5 separate regions of the Homo sapiens genome follow, and regions 1, 2, 3 and 4 are each linked to region 5. Evidence: promoter capture Hi-C in 16 types of primary human blood cells and fetal thymus (Javierre and others, 2016). All regions are on one chromosome and are shown on one strand. The core of a region is centred on a gene start or on the middle of the fragment in contact, and the rest is flanking DNA. Distances in the headings are between cores, read along the strand shown. Region 1 has its middle 62 kb from the start of NDUFS5. Region 2 has its middle 76 kb from the start of MACF1. Region 3 has its middle 28 kb from the start of MACF1. Region 4 has its middle 12 kb from the start of MACF1. Region 5 holds the start of PABPC4 (poly(A) binding protein cytoplasmic 4).

The links. The method cuts DNA at HindIII sites, captures the fragments that hold promoters and counts their contacts. A CHiCAGO score of 5 or more calls a contact.
Region 1: a contact is called between a fragment that was not itself captured here and the fragment with the promoter of PABPC4 in region 5, in 1 of 17 cell types (fetal thymus). The highest score is 5.8, in fetal thymus.
Region 2: a fragment that was not itself captured here is called in contact with the fragment with the promoter of PABPC4 in region 5 in 1 of 17 cell types (erythroblasts); the score reaches 5.4 in erythroblasts.
Region 3: a contact is called between a fragment that was not itself captured here and the fragment with the promoter of PABPC4 in region 5, in 1 of 17 cell types (fetal thymus). The highest score is 5.8, in fetal thymus.
Region 4: a contact is called between a fragment that was not itself captured here and the fragment with the promoter of PABPC4 in region 5, in 1 of 17 cell types (fetal thymus). The highest score is 7.7, in fetal thymus.

What each region holds. Positions count from the first base shown.
Region 1 is chr1:39,087,169-39,089,868 of GRCh38, reverse strand. It overlaps a transcript of MACF1 not described here. Among named protein-coding and RNA genes, the nearest start is that of NDUFS5, 62 kb to the right of the region's middle. The HindIII fragment of the contact is 5,136 bases long and covers 1-2,700 here.
Region 2 is chr1:39,127,378-39,130,077 of GRCh38, reverse strand. It overlaps a transcript of MACF1 not described here. Among named protein-coding and RNA genes, the nearest start is that of MACF1, 76 kb to the left of the region's middle. The HindIII fragment of the contact is 1,345 bases long and covers 683-2,027 here.
Region 3 is chr1:39,175,574-39,178,273 of GRCh38, reverse strand. It overlaps a transcript of MACF1 not described here. Among named protein-coding and RNA genes, the nearest start is that of MACF1, 28 kb to the left of the region's middle. The HindIII fragment of the contact is 180 bases long and covers 1,291-1,470 here.
Region 4 is chr1:39,191,640-39,194,339 of GRCh38, reverse strand. It overlaps a transcript of MACF1 not described here. Among named protein-coding and RNA genes, the nearest start is that of MACF1, 12 kb to the left of the region's middle. RefSeq lists an enhancer at 2,290-2,700. The HindIII fragment of the contact is 697 bases long and covers 1,079-1,775 here.
Region 5 is chr1:39,575,460-39,578,159 of GRCh38, reverse strand. It overlaps PABPC4 (poly(A) binding protein cytoplasmic 4), which reads left to right and starts at 1,370. Exons shown (of 16, transcript NM_001135653.2): 1 at 1,370-2,401. The coding sequence starts at 2,209. RefSeq lists a silencer at 1,116-1,425 and enhancers at 1,926-1,995, 2,496-2,545, 2,566-2,685. The HindIII fragment of the contact is 4,726 bases long and covers 524-2,700 here.

The DNA.
Region 1 (2,700 bases), core at 66-2,565, 490 kb after region 5:
CCCTTTTACACCCTTTATCACCATCTCCCTTTTATAGATAAGGAAACTGAGGATCCAAGAAGTGAGGTCATTTGCCTAAGTCTTGTAACTCCAGATTCAGTTATCTCCGCAGTGCCTGGCACATGGCAGGAGCTTAATCCATTTTTTTTATTGAATGAATGAATGAAGCAGAGAGGTGCCTGTGAGATGTCTTCTCAGAGCTCCCAACTTGGAGGAGAGACACATGGGCCCAGAGGAGTAAGCTCCAGCTTCTGACCAGGTAGTGCTCTCATGGCTCTCTGTCCCAGGGCAAAAAGGGTAAGATGGGACTCCTGACTACAGAGACCTCCAGAGCTGGTGAGGGAAATGAACCTGGGAACAATGAACGTGAATATAAAGCCAACTGAAACAAGGGCTGTGCAGAGAGACAATTGTCGTCTGACTAGAAGGCCACAATGGAGCAGATGTTGGGAATGATTATTTCAGCAGCATTTGCTGATACTCCTAGGAATGAATCCCATAGATGCTTTCTACTGGCACATAGCTTAACCCCTTTTTTAGTTGAAGGAATGAATAAATGAACAACCAGAGAGGGATCCAATCCTTAGCTCTGAGTCACTGCACTCCCCTTTTTCACAACACATACGGGGATATAATTATTTTTTCCCTTCTAACTACTTAAAAAAAAAATAGAGACAGGGTCTCATAGGCTGGTCTTGAACTCCTTAGCTCTAATGATTCTCCTGCCTCGGCCTCCCGAAATGCTGAGATTACAGGTGTGAGCCACTACACCCGGCCTTTTCTCCCTTCTGTCCTCTCCACTAGACTGAGTTCCATGCAGAAGGGACCACATCTTCAGTCATCTTTGAATATCAATGCCAAGGACAGGGAGGGTCCTGATTATGTGATGTTAGATGAATGAATACCTGATTGATGGGTAGATGGTGGAATCTTCCTGCACCCTACCGTGCCCTAGCCCAAACATGAGCCCTTCTTCAAAACATGTTACTGCCATCTGCAGGAAACTTGTAATAATAAATGTACACGTCTGCAATGACAACAAATGTGATGTGAATCGCACCCCCAAGGGTTGTGCAGTGTACAGCCATGTGACACCCTGTCTTGCACCCTGTTCTCAATATACTCCCCACAGGTCCCAAGGGATACATCATTTCTTCCTCTCTTTGTTTCTACCCTTTGGGGTTGTACTCCTTGCTACAGTAAGCTCCCTAGCGCCCCACTTCCTTGTTGCTCCCCACCATTAAGTAAGGATATTTCTACTGCTCTTCACTAAAGACAGAGAGCCAGAGGGGAAGAGGCAAATTTTCCAAGATCTTTGTCTCTCCCCTTTCCTGGTTCTATAGACCAGGATCCTGAGGCCTTTCCCGGAAGTGACCAAGTCTCTCAGGTGAGTGTGGAGATTTAGATTGTCAACTACAGAAGATTCAGACTGGGCTGGTTGCCAGGTATTGCCTAAGGAAATAGAAATAACAATGTACAGGGCCGGGTGCGGTGGCTCACGCCTGTAATCCCAGCATTTTGGAAGGCCAAGGCAAGCGGATCACCTGAGGTCAGGAGTTCAAGACCAGCCTGACCAACATGGTGAAACCCCATCTCGGGCCAGGCGCGGTGGCTCACACCTATAATCCCAGGACTTTGGGAGGCTGAGGCGGGCGGATCACGAGGTCAGGAGATGGAGACCATCCTGGCTAACATGGTGAAACCCCGTCTCTACTAAAAATACAAAAAATTAGCCGGGCAAGGTGGCAGGCGCCTGTAGTCCCAGCTGCTCAGGAGGCTGAGGCAGGAGAATGGCGTGAAACCAGGGGGCGGAGCCTGCAGTGAGCTGAGATCCAGCAGAGATTGCACCACTGCACTCCAGCCTGGGCGACAGCGAGACTCCATCTCCAAAAAAAAAAAGAAACCCCATCTCTACTAAACATACAAAAATTAGCTGGGCATGGTGGCACACGCCTGTAATCCCTGCTACTCGGGAGGCTGAGGCAGAAGAATTGCTTGAACCCGGGAGGTGAAGGTTGCAGTGAGTTGAGATTGCGCCACTGCACTCCAGCCTGGGTGGCAAAGTGAGACTCTGTCTCAAAAAAAAAAAGAAATAGCAATGTACTTGGAGTTAGAAGATCTGTGTTTACCAGTCCTGTGTAACTATAGGCAAGTCCCCTAAACCCTCTGAGCCTCGGATGCTAACATATGTCCTGCCTAACAGAGTTATTTTGAAATCTCTGTGTAAACCATAAAGCTGATAAACCGAAACAAGACACTTTCATTAGTGACTCTTGTTACATTTGAATGTGGCTGGGCTTAGGGAGTTGAGAATATGGCTGGCAAAGAAGAAGGAGAAACAAATGTAGGGAAAGGATGAGAACAGGAAGATGGGAAGAAGAACAAGGTTCAGCACCCTAAAACCTGTTTGGCTTTGTAGACTGAAATCAGCAGGTTTCTCAGCCCCGACATCCCTCTCTACTCTGACATGTGTGACCACCAGGCTTGCCCCATCAGGCCTCTCAAGCAAGGGCGAGGCCCTAAGACCAGCTCAGGACACGGAGTGGGCCAGGGAAAGGGAAGATCTCTATTTGGTGAGAGTGATTCAGACACCCCCACTTGGCTTCATAAGCAAGATCCAGGGGGAGGAGAAAATTGCACAGGCCACAGCTGGCTTCCAGCGTAAGACTGACTTCATTTCCTCCCACAATTAAAGTTCTG
Region 2 (2,700 bases), core at 106-2,605, 450 kb after region 5:
ACTCAGAGAAAAAAAAAATGGAGTGGGGCCTTTCTATTAACAAAAAGAATATTGTATTAGGAGACCTCAAGACCCCTAAATCAAGCAATCAAAACATTCTGCTCCCTAAGCCACAGCCACAGAAGAGTTAAAACCATCAAACTCCATTTCCTTTCCTCTCCATTTCAAATCATTTGGGGGAGGGGAGGAGGAGTGGAATAGAAAGACAGGTTGCAGTCAAAGTCTGGACAGCTAAAGGCAGGGTGGTCCACTGCATATGTGAACCTCAGAGATGGGAATGATAACTAACCAATAATGTGTGTGTGATAGGAGGGTGTCAGTGAAGGAGAAAAATAAGATGGGGCAAAAGGAGTTAGCAGGAATAGAAACAAGAGGTTTTACACTACTTCAATAGCAACCTCTACTGGCAAATGCAAGGAGGTCCTGGCCACCCTTAAGGTCTAGGGCTGGTAAGACAAGTGAGAGAAAGGATTATGCCCATCCCTGGTCTTACTCTGACTGTCCTGCATTTTTCTCCTGGATTTCCTAAATCTAACCTAAGCCTTTTCTCCAGATTCACTCTAATGAGAAAGTAAGTAGATGGCTGGTACAGTTTTATAGCAAAGAAAATAAATGGCAATTAACAACTGGTTTGCACCAGAGAAGCCAGTTTGCCTAATTAGCCTGCTGGTTCCAAGAAGCTTCTCTCTGCAATACGCCAGCCTTTAATATTTATGTTTTTAATAAAGCCATATCCCCACCTCTCACAAGGTAGCATCCTCCCATCCATCCCCTTTTCAGCCCTCTTCCTACACTTACTATCTCTTTTTCCCAATGTGAAGTCTTGAATCCCACCCACTAAAGGAGAAAACATAACCTGTTGCACAAGTATTTCATTTACGGGCAGTTCTCTCAGGCACACACCCCATCTTGACAGGCAGCCAAGATGATGTCAGCCAGGTAAGTGTTCCCTTAGGCTTCCGGCTCTAAGCACCTGATCTTTAGAAGGGTGTGAAGTACTAACAAAATCCAATCACATCAACATTTACTGAGTACTTGCTAAATGTAGGACATTGTGTTAGGCAAAATTGGGACTAGAAAGAATAAATCACCATGAGCCCAAGCAGCACAATCTAACTGGGCAAATGTGTGATAAGTTAAATAACAAATAATAAAATACAAGTGACGATACACGGCATTTCATGGTCAACTGGCAAATGAGTGGTAGAAATTAATGCTATGAGTTATGAAGCAGAATGAGTTATCATGGGTTAGCTTTCCAGTGGATTAATGTAAAAGGGAGGACTTGAACTGAGCTTCAAAGGTAAGTAAAATTTTACCAGGAGGTGAGGGAAAGACTACAGAAAAGGGTGCAATAGCAGAAATCTTTTTTTTTTTTTGAGACGGAGTCTCACCCTGTCACCCAGGCTGGAGAGCAGTGGCGTGATCTCGGCTCACTGCAAGCTCCACCTCCTGGGTTCACGCCATTCTCCTGCCTTAGCCTCCCGAGTAGCTAGGACTACAGGCGCCCGCCACCACGCCTGGCTAATTTTTTTTTGTATTTTTAGTAGAGACGAGGTTTCACCGTGCTAGCCAGGATGGTCTTGATCTCCTGACCTTGTGATCCATCAGCATCCCAAAGTACTGGGATTACAGGCGTGAGCCACCGTGCCTGGCCCTATGGCAGAACTCTTAAGTATCAAAGGGAGACTCAAAAGTAAGGCAGCCCAGTGCAGTGGTGCAGTCCTGTAGTCTCAGCTACTCAGGGGGCACTGCTTAAGACCAGGAGTTTGAGGCTGCACTGTGCTATGATGGTGCCTGTGAACAGCCACTGCACACTAGCCTGGGCAATGTAGCAAGACCCTGTCTCTAAAAAAAAAATAAAAAATAAAAATGTAAGCCAGATGTATGGTAATAAAAATAAATAAGAGGTAAGGCTCATGAGTCAAGAAGAGACACAACCAACCTAAAGGAATATAAAGGATGTAAAGGTGCAGTTCCAAAGCAAGCCTGGCAAGAAAAAACCTGTAAGGATACAAACCAAAGCTTGAACAGTGGTTACCCTGACCAGTGGGCCTAGGTGGAGAAAATAAAGACTAGAAAAGAGAATTTTTACTTTTTTCTTTGTAATTTCTGCTTAAATGTATTACAGTGAACATGTTTAATTTTGTAATAATACAAAAGAGAGTTACATAAACATAGCAGGCCTATGTTTTTTCCTCTTAATCACTAGGACATTTTTTTTTTTAAGTAACTTACAACATCTCACATCTGACTAGGGCCCCATGGCAAGACTGCAACCAGTAGGTAAGAAATGTGAACTGACTTCACATTCTCTTTCCCAATGAAAACAATAACAGCTCAAAGGAACACAAGTAAAGGTCACTTCCCTGACCCCTTAAGTTGGCACCATTCCAGAACTAGGAGTTTTTAGAGAAAAGGAGACTCAAGCCAAACAGTTCTATTCAAGGAAGTGAAGGAAAAGTATATACTGAGTTAAGAGCTGGAGTTCTGAAGTCCAACAGAGCTACACATAAATGACTGCTCTACCATTTACTGGGTGAGAGAACTTGAGCAAGTTATTTCACTGGCTGAGACCCACTTTTCTCCTCTGCAAAATGAGATAATCTATTTCACAGGGTTATCATGAGAATTAAGTGGATTAATGTATATAAAGTGCTTAACACAGTCCATTCCTGGCACATAGTAAGAAATTAATGA
Region 3 (2,700 bases), core at 131-2,630, 400 kb after region 5:
CATGGCACATGTATACCTATGTAACAAACCTGCACATTCTGCACATGTATCCCAGAACTTAAAGTAAAATTTAACCAAAAAAAAAAAAAAAAGAATGTTGAAAAGGAAAATTACAATGTAAGGTAGCACACTGGCTGACCTTTATGGGCTTACTGAGGACACAAATATAACCTCATACTCCTCTCCTGGAATTTGTAAGGAGAAGACAATGGGGAATAAAGATTTCCCTGACAGCCTAAAGATTTCCCTGACAGCCCAGATTCTGCGGAAATCCCCCTCTCGGTGATCCCATTTCTCAACTTGATTGAAATAACTACCACCCAGATTCCTGGAAATTGCCATTTTACTTATTCAATGGGGAGTTTTATTGCCATGGCAGTGCAGCTTTCATAGCTACAGGATTTCAGCATTATGCTCACCCAAATGATTCTTAAAACTTAAGAGTCACTGAGAAAGGCCTAAGGGCACTTCAGAAAGCAATGGCTTTCCCATTCACCACAGCTTCTGGTATAGATGGCAAAGGAAATAGTGCCCGGAGCAAAACTGAGATGTTTCCCAGTTACCTCTTGGAGCTGACTCTCTGAAAGATGGTTATATTATCAATGCCAATCAGAAACTAGGCATGGAGATTACAGTCCTACCTTCCTCTATGAACACAAATACGCCTGCCCCCACCATCATCCCTCTCTCCATTAGCAATAACATTTACGAATGATATGTGGAGTGGCTCCTGGACCCCTCTCTGATGTTCCCTTTTTGCACAGCAAAATGATGACAGCCAGGGACTGATGATGCAGTTATTTGTACATTAGGCATCAATCTGGAAAACTCCTTCTATAGAAACAGTAGTTAGGCCGGGAAAGGTGGCTCACGCCTGTAATGCCAGCACTTTGGGAGGCCGAGGCGGGTGGATCACATGAGGTCAGGAGTTTGAAACCGGCCTGACCAACACGGAGAAACTCCGTCTCTACTAAAAATACAAAATTAGCTGGGCGTGGTGGCACATGCTACTCAGGAGGCTGAGGCAGGAGAATCGCTTGAACCTGGGAGGCGGGGGTTGTGGCGAACCAAGATTGCGCCATTGCACTCCAGCCTGGGCAACAAGAGCGAAACTAGGTCTCAAAAATAAATAAATAAAAATCTCCTTTTCTCAAACCTCTAGTCTGATGACAGCGATTCTCAGTCCTTAGGCCCCAACGTAGCTCTAAGATCTCTAGACTATCTCAAGAGATACTACATAATTCTCAAATATATCTTTGAAACCGGACTAATTTTAACCCTCTTAAAGCTTATATTACTTAGCATTTTTGTTAAAGGAAGGAACTGTAATAAAATTAAACAAAAGAAAAAAAGTCACAATTCAAGGATCTTACTAAAGATTACTCCTAGCCAAGGCTTCAACAGCAAGCAATGTGATTTGGAGGAAAGGCATTCAACTGTACATCAGAACCCTGGGTCATGGTTTAAGCTTGTCAATAACTAGTTATATCACTTGGCCCAAGTATCCTTTGACTTCTCCAGGTGGGCTCAGTTCCTCATCTATCTTTTCATGACACTATGAATTTGGGATTGATCTAAAAACCTATTGATCTAAAAACCTGACTATTAAACATCTAGAGATAGAACCAGTGATGCTTAGTAAGTATAACAAGAATTCATATCTAGCTCCCCAAGCATAAGCAGAAATTTTCTACAGAAAAATGACTAAAATGGGGGGAAAAAGAAGGAAAGAGCCTCATATGCAAGGTATAAGAATCAAAAGTTAGAGGACCTAAAAGGAGGAGAGTGGAAGCTATGATTACAGAATTTAAACGAAGAGGACTATTAGAAGTCTTCCCTTCCTACTCTCAATTCTCCTTTAAATAATTTTGAATAACGAAAATGACTAAGAAATGGGACAAGCTAACACACAAATAAGCATTCTGGGTAAGAGAAGAATTGTTGTGTGCTATAAAATGGATTTAGAAGAAGAAAGTGAGAATTTTTTTTTTTTTTGGAGACAGAGTCTCACTCTGCCACTCAGACTGGAGTGCAGAGGTGTGATCTCGGCTCACTGCAACCTGGGTCTCCCGGGTTCAAGTGATTCTCCTGCACTAGCCTCCCTCCTGAGTAGCTGGGATTACAGGCGCCTGCCACCACACCTGGCTTTTTTTTTTTTTTTTTTGAGAAGGAGTCTCGCTCTGTCGCCCAGGCTGGAGTACAGTGGCGCAATCTCAGCTCACTGCAAGCTCCGCCTCCCGGGTTCATGACATTCTCCTGCCTCAGCCTCCCGAGTAGCTGGGACTACAGGTGCCCGTCACCACACCTGGCTAATTTTTTTTTTTTTTTTTTTGTATTTTTAGTAGAGACAGGGTTTCACCATGTTAGCCAGGATGGTCTTGATCTCCTGACCTTGTGATCCACCCTCCTTGGCCTCCCAAAGTGCTGGGATTACAGGCGTGAGCCACTGCACCTGGCCACACCCGGCTAATTTTTGTATTTTTAGTAGAGAGAGGCTTTCACCACGTTGGCCAGGCTGGTTTCAAACTCCTGGCCTCAAGTGATTCGCCTGCCTCAGCCTCCCAAAGTGCTGGGATTATAGGTGTGAGCCACTGCCCCCGGCAGTGAGGATTTTTAAAAGGGAAGAAGAAATTAGAAAAACAGAAAGCAGAAAAGAAGGATAAAATACAATCACAACATACTTGCATTTAACTATGCAAA
Region 4 (2,700 bases), core at 178-2,677, 380 kb after region 5:
AAAGAAAAGAAAAGAAAAGAAATTCCACTTCTGGAAATCCCTCCGGATATGGATTCTGCCCAGGATCTAACTCTAGATGGCCTTCCTATCAAGCTCAGCAACTGAAGGTCTTACCCTTAAGAAAGAAAAGGGAAAGTAACACTAAAGAGGAGGGGCAGAAAATAAAGTGAGAGATGCTCTGGTACAGCACTTAGAAAACTCACTCTTGGCCAGGTGTGGTGGCGCATGCCTGTAATCCCAGCACTTTGGGAGGACGAGGTGGTTGGATCACCTGAGGTCAGGAGTTCGAGACCAGCCTGACCAATATGGTGAAACCCCATCTCTATTAAAAATACAAAATTACCCAGGAGTGCCTGTAATCCCAGCTACTTGGGAGGCTGAGGCAAGAGAATTGCCTGAACCCAGGAAGTGGAGGTTGCAGTGAGCTGAGATCATGCCACTGCACCCCAGCCTGGGCAACAACAGCGAAACTGTCTCAAAAAAAGAAAAAAAGAAAAAAGAAAACTCACTCTTAAACCCAAGTGCCTGCCTCTCTCTCTCTCTCTCTCCCTCTCTCTCTTACCAGGGCTGTAAATATAATTTGTGAGCCAAACCTATATTCAAATTCTGATTTCACAATCTCTAGTTGTGTATCTATGAACCAATTACTTAATCTCTTTAATCCATAGTTATCTCATGTCAAAAAGGGATAATAAAATTACCTCTTCACAGTGTTACAGTGAGGATTAAGTGAGAAAATGCATAATATATTTGGCACACAGTAAGCATTAACTATTTAAAAAGCATTAAACATTGACTCATTAATGCCAACTCTTGTTATTATGATTACCACACAAGAGACCTCCTAGCAGGGCATCAAGTCATCCTCAGTGGCAAATGCAAGAAGGTAAGTGAAAGTAATGTGTGGTATTGAACAGCTCAATGACTAAGTCAAATTAGGCTTCGACAGCATTGCTTCAAAAAGGGAAAGGACAAGAATATCTAGTCAACCTCAACAGCCATATTACCATTTTAAGTAATCTCTCTCTCTGGCATTTTGACCCTTTTCCCCAATGAAATAATATCTATCTAGTAAGCTTTTTCCAGGAAACTCTGGTAGCCAACATCTTAAAGAAATGGAGAAAAAAATGATACGAAGAAAAGAAGCCCTGTCTATGGGGACTGTTCCAGAATCTTGCCCAGGATTGTTATTTTTGTCCAGAAATATTCTTTTTTTTTTTAATTTTTGAGATGGAATTTCACTCTTGTTGCCCAGACTGTAGTGCAATGGCACAATCTCGGTTCACTGCAACCTCTGCCTCCCGGGTTTAAGCAATTCTCCTGCCTCAGCCTCCCAAGTAGCTGGGATTACAGGCATGCGCCACCATGCCCGTCTAATTTTTTTGTATTTTTGGTAGAGACGGGGTTTCACCATGTTGGCCAGGCTGGTCTCGAACTCCTGACCTCAGGTGATATCCACCCGCCTCGGGTTACAGGCATGAGCCACTGCGCTTCGCCCATAAAGTTCTTAATACAAGTTCACGCCTTTTGTTTCTGCTCTAATATTTTAAAAAACATAGTACTGAATATACAAAGATGTCACAATAGACAAGGAATCCAGCTCATTTATCACTAGATTAGTGTTTCTCTTATTGAGAGCCTAACCCTCAGTGACCCCTACTGGACAAAGATAGATAGACACAGAAGACTAAGTTTTTAAACAACAAAGAAAACTGTGTTGCTTTTATTCTGATGAAATTCTCACACATGGAACTTTCATTATACAAGTTCAAGCTTGTGTCAAAATCTATATACACCTGTAACATAGAAGGCAACAATGCTATGTCCAGTCAGCTCATTCCTTTTATGGGAAACATTATCACCATAAAGTTGGTTGGCTTCACGGCTGCCTCAACAGGATCGTCAGTATTTATGGTTTTGTGATGAGTCCTTATAGAGAAAATAGCAGACAGAAAAGGAGCAGTCACTGGCACACAACTCCTACCCCTCAGTACCTTGCAATTTTTCCATTCCCCGAGGTGACTCACTCTTAACACAGCCCAGACTACTTGCCAGCAGTCAGGGCCACTATGTGTGCCTGGTGAGTAATGCTTTCCCCAGCGTGCATCCTCCCAGCTGCCTCTGACTGAACAAGTCATAAAAGGAAATCTGGGTAACCATTTTTAAGTTTTTTGTTTTTTTCTTTTTTTGAGACAGAGTCTTGCTGTGTCGCCCAGGCTGGAGTGCAGTGGTGAGATATCGGCTCACTGCAATCTCCACTTCCCAGGTTCAAGCAATTCTTGTGCCTCAGTCTCCTGAGTAGCTGGGATTACAGGCATACACCACCACACCCAGCTAATTTTTGTATGTTTAATAGAAACGGAGTTTCACCATGTTGGCCAGGCTGGTCTCGAACTCCTGGCCTCAAGTGATCCACCTGCTTCGGCCTCCCAAAGTGCTGGGAGCCACCGTGCCTGGCCCAGTTTTAAGAACACATGTCCCATCCTAAACACAAGGATAGCTCCTCTCAGCTCCCTGCAGGGACTCAGAGTTGTAATGAATTCCCTCTAATGGCAGCCAGGTGGCAATGCAGAAACAGGCAAAGGCAGAAAAGCCAATGAGTATGATTAAGCCCTTACTCTCTAAAATCTGGGGACCACAGCTTCTACTTTGGATAAAACAAAAAGTAATGGGCATGAAGCAGAGCCATCTGCTATCACA
Region 5 (2,700 bases), core at 121-2,620:
GTCCCATATAACATAGTCCTATAAAGTGATATGACTTTTTTTTTTTTGAGACGGAGTTTCGCTCTTGTTGCCCAGGCTAGAGTGCAATGGCATGATCTCAGCTCACCACAACCTCTGCCTGCCGGGTTCAAGCGATTCTTCTGCTTTAGCCGCCTGAGTAGCTGGGATTACAGGCATGCACCCCCATGTCTGGCTACTTTTTGTATTTTTAGGAGAGACGGGGGTTTCTTCATGTTGGTCATGCTGGTCTCGAACTCTCGACCTCAGTGATCCGCCCGCCTCGGCCTCCCAAAGTGCTGGGATTACAGGCGTGAGCCACCACGCCTGGCCTGTGATACGACTTTCAAATGACCTGCCAGACTCTCATGCAGATGAAAAGTCTTTTTATAATTATCCAAGCCTAGAAGAAACTTTAAACATAGGAACAGAAAGTATTTCTGTGCCCTTAAACACAAACTAAATGTCCGGGAATGCCACCAGCATGTCAATAGAGGGGATGCTTGTGTTTGGTTTCATTGAAGCTTTACCAAAATGTGCTCATCTTTTCAGAAAATCCCATCACCCATGGATACTGCTTGCATTTCTAGTTCCTGACGATTCTACCTCTAGGTCAACGGTATCCTGAAAACTTCTCAAATCTTTATTGTATTTGGACCCAGACATTTACCTATTGGACCACCTATTATTTTATTTTAACTTATTTTATGTCACCTTCATTTCACAATTTGGCATACCATTTAATTTTTTTTTTTTTGAGAGGGAGTCTCACTCTGTTGCCCAGGCTGGATGGAGTGCAGTGGCACGATCTTGGCTCACCGCGACCTCCGCCTCCCGGGTTCAAGCTATTCTCCTGCTCAGCCTCCCGAGTAGCTAGGACTACAGGCGCATGCCACCACGCCCGGCTAATGTTTTGTATTTTTAGTAGAGACGGGGTTTCACCGCGTTAGCCAGGATGGTCTCGATCTCCTGACCTCCATGATCCATCCGCCTCGGCCTCCCAAAGTGCTGGGATTACAGGCGTGAGCCACTGCACCCAGCCCCATACCATTTAATTTTAAACCTCATGCGTGTGTGCAGGTTAAATGGCTCCTAGGTTCCATTCCCGGGTGATGGGTGGGAGGGTGTTAAGATTTATTTGTTATAGAAAGGGGCCCTGGGGTCTCCCGCAGCCGCGAGCTGGGCGGTCCTCCCGGCGCCAGGGGTCGCTGTAGCGCCGCGCGGCCGCGCCGGGTCGCTCTCGCGTGGCCGCCCCGCCTCGGGCCCCCGGGCCGAGTGGGCGGGCACGACTGCGCCCAGGTCGCGAGGCGCCCTTCGACCAGCAGCGCCCGGGGCGGGCGGGTATAAATGGAGCGGTGGCTCCCTCGGCCGCCTCTCTCCGCCCCGGGTCGCTGCCGCCTCCGCCGCTTTCGGGCTTCGCAGCCTGAGGAAAAAAAGAGAAAAAGATAAAAAAAATCTGAAAACGCTTCAAAATCCTGAAAAAAAAAAAGGAAAAGAAAAAACGAATCCTCGGAGAACCCGCGGGGAAGTCACTTTCGTACGCTTCCGGCCTGCCCCGCGCCCGCCGCCGCAGCGCTTGGCGTCCGTCGGTCTCCGTCCGTCGGTCCGGGGGTGAGCCGCCCGCCCGGCCCGCCGTGCCCTCCCCCCGCTCGGGCCCCGAGCCCCGCGCCCCGCGCCTGCCCCGGCGCACCACGTGTCCGTGCTGCCCTTCGCCGCCCGCCCGGGGCTCGCCGAGTCGGCGCCCACAAAGATTTGGTTTCCCTCTGCCCCGGCGGTTGTAATCTTAAACCGCCGGAGCCCGAGGCCTATATTTATAGAGAAACGCGTGTCCCCGAGGCCGCCGTGGGCAGCGTCCGGTCGCCTCTTAAAGGATTTTTACCCTTCGGAAGGGGATTCCCCGTTTAATTTTTTTCCTACTTTGATTTTTTGAAATTTGGAGCTTCGCACCAGGACCGCGGAGAAGTGCAAAGTCGCGGGGAGGGCCGTATTGTGCGGAGAGCCTTTTGTCTGCGGTGCTGCGGCCGTGGGAGCCGGCCCCCGCCTCCCGTTTCCGTCCCGTCTCCAAGCCCGCCGACTCCAGCTCGTCCTCGCCGCGCCGGTGCCACCTGTGAGCCGCGGCGCGGGCCCGGGCTCCGAAGGCGCCCCTTTGTCCTGCGGCGGGCCCGATAAGAAGTCCTCCTGGCGGGGCTCGGGGTGGTGGGGGGCGGGGAGATGAACGCTGCGGCCAGCAGCTACCCCATGGCCTCCCTGTACGTGGGCGACCTGCATTCGGACGTCACCGAGGCCATGCTGTACGAAAAGTTCAGCCCCGCGGGGCCTGTGCTGTCCATCCGGGTCTGCCGCGATATGATCACCCGCCGCTCCCTGGGCTATGCCTACGTCAACTTCCAGCAGCCGGCCGACGGTGAGTAGAAGCTGTGCCCACACGTGCGTGGGAGCCCGGAGGACCCCGGGAGTCGTCTTCTGGCAGGGCCCTCCTGCCGAGGAGGGCGGCATCACGACAGCATGTTGCCACCGAAGCTGGGAGCAGGGTGCGGAGATTGAGAACGCGGACCTGGCATCAGATGACTCGAGTTTCAATCTTGTTTCTACCACTTGCTAACTGGGTGACCTTGGGCTACTTATTAGTGTTGCTGGTAGTGGGGTTGGAAACCAAGGAGACTGTAAAACAGGATTAGAGTGAAGCCACTGGCATTCCACTGC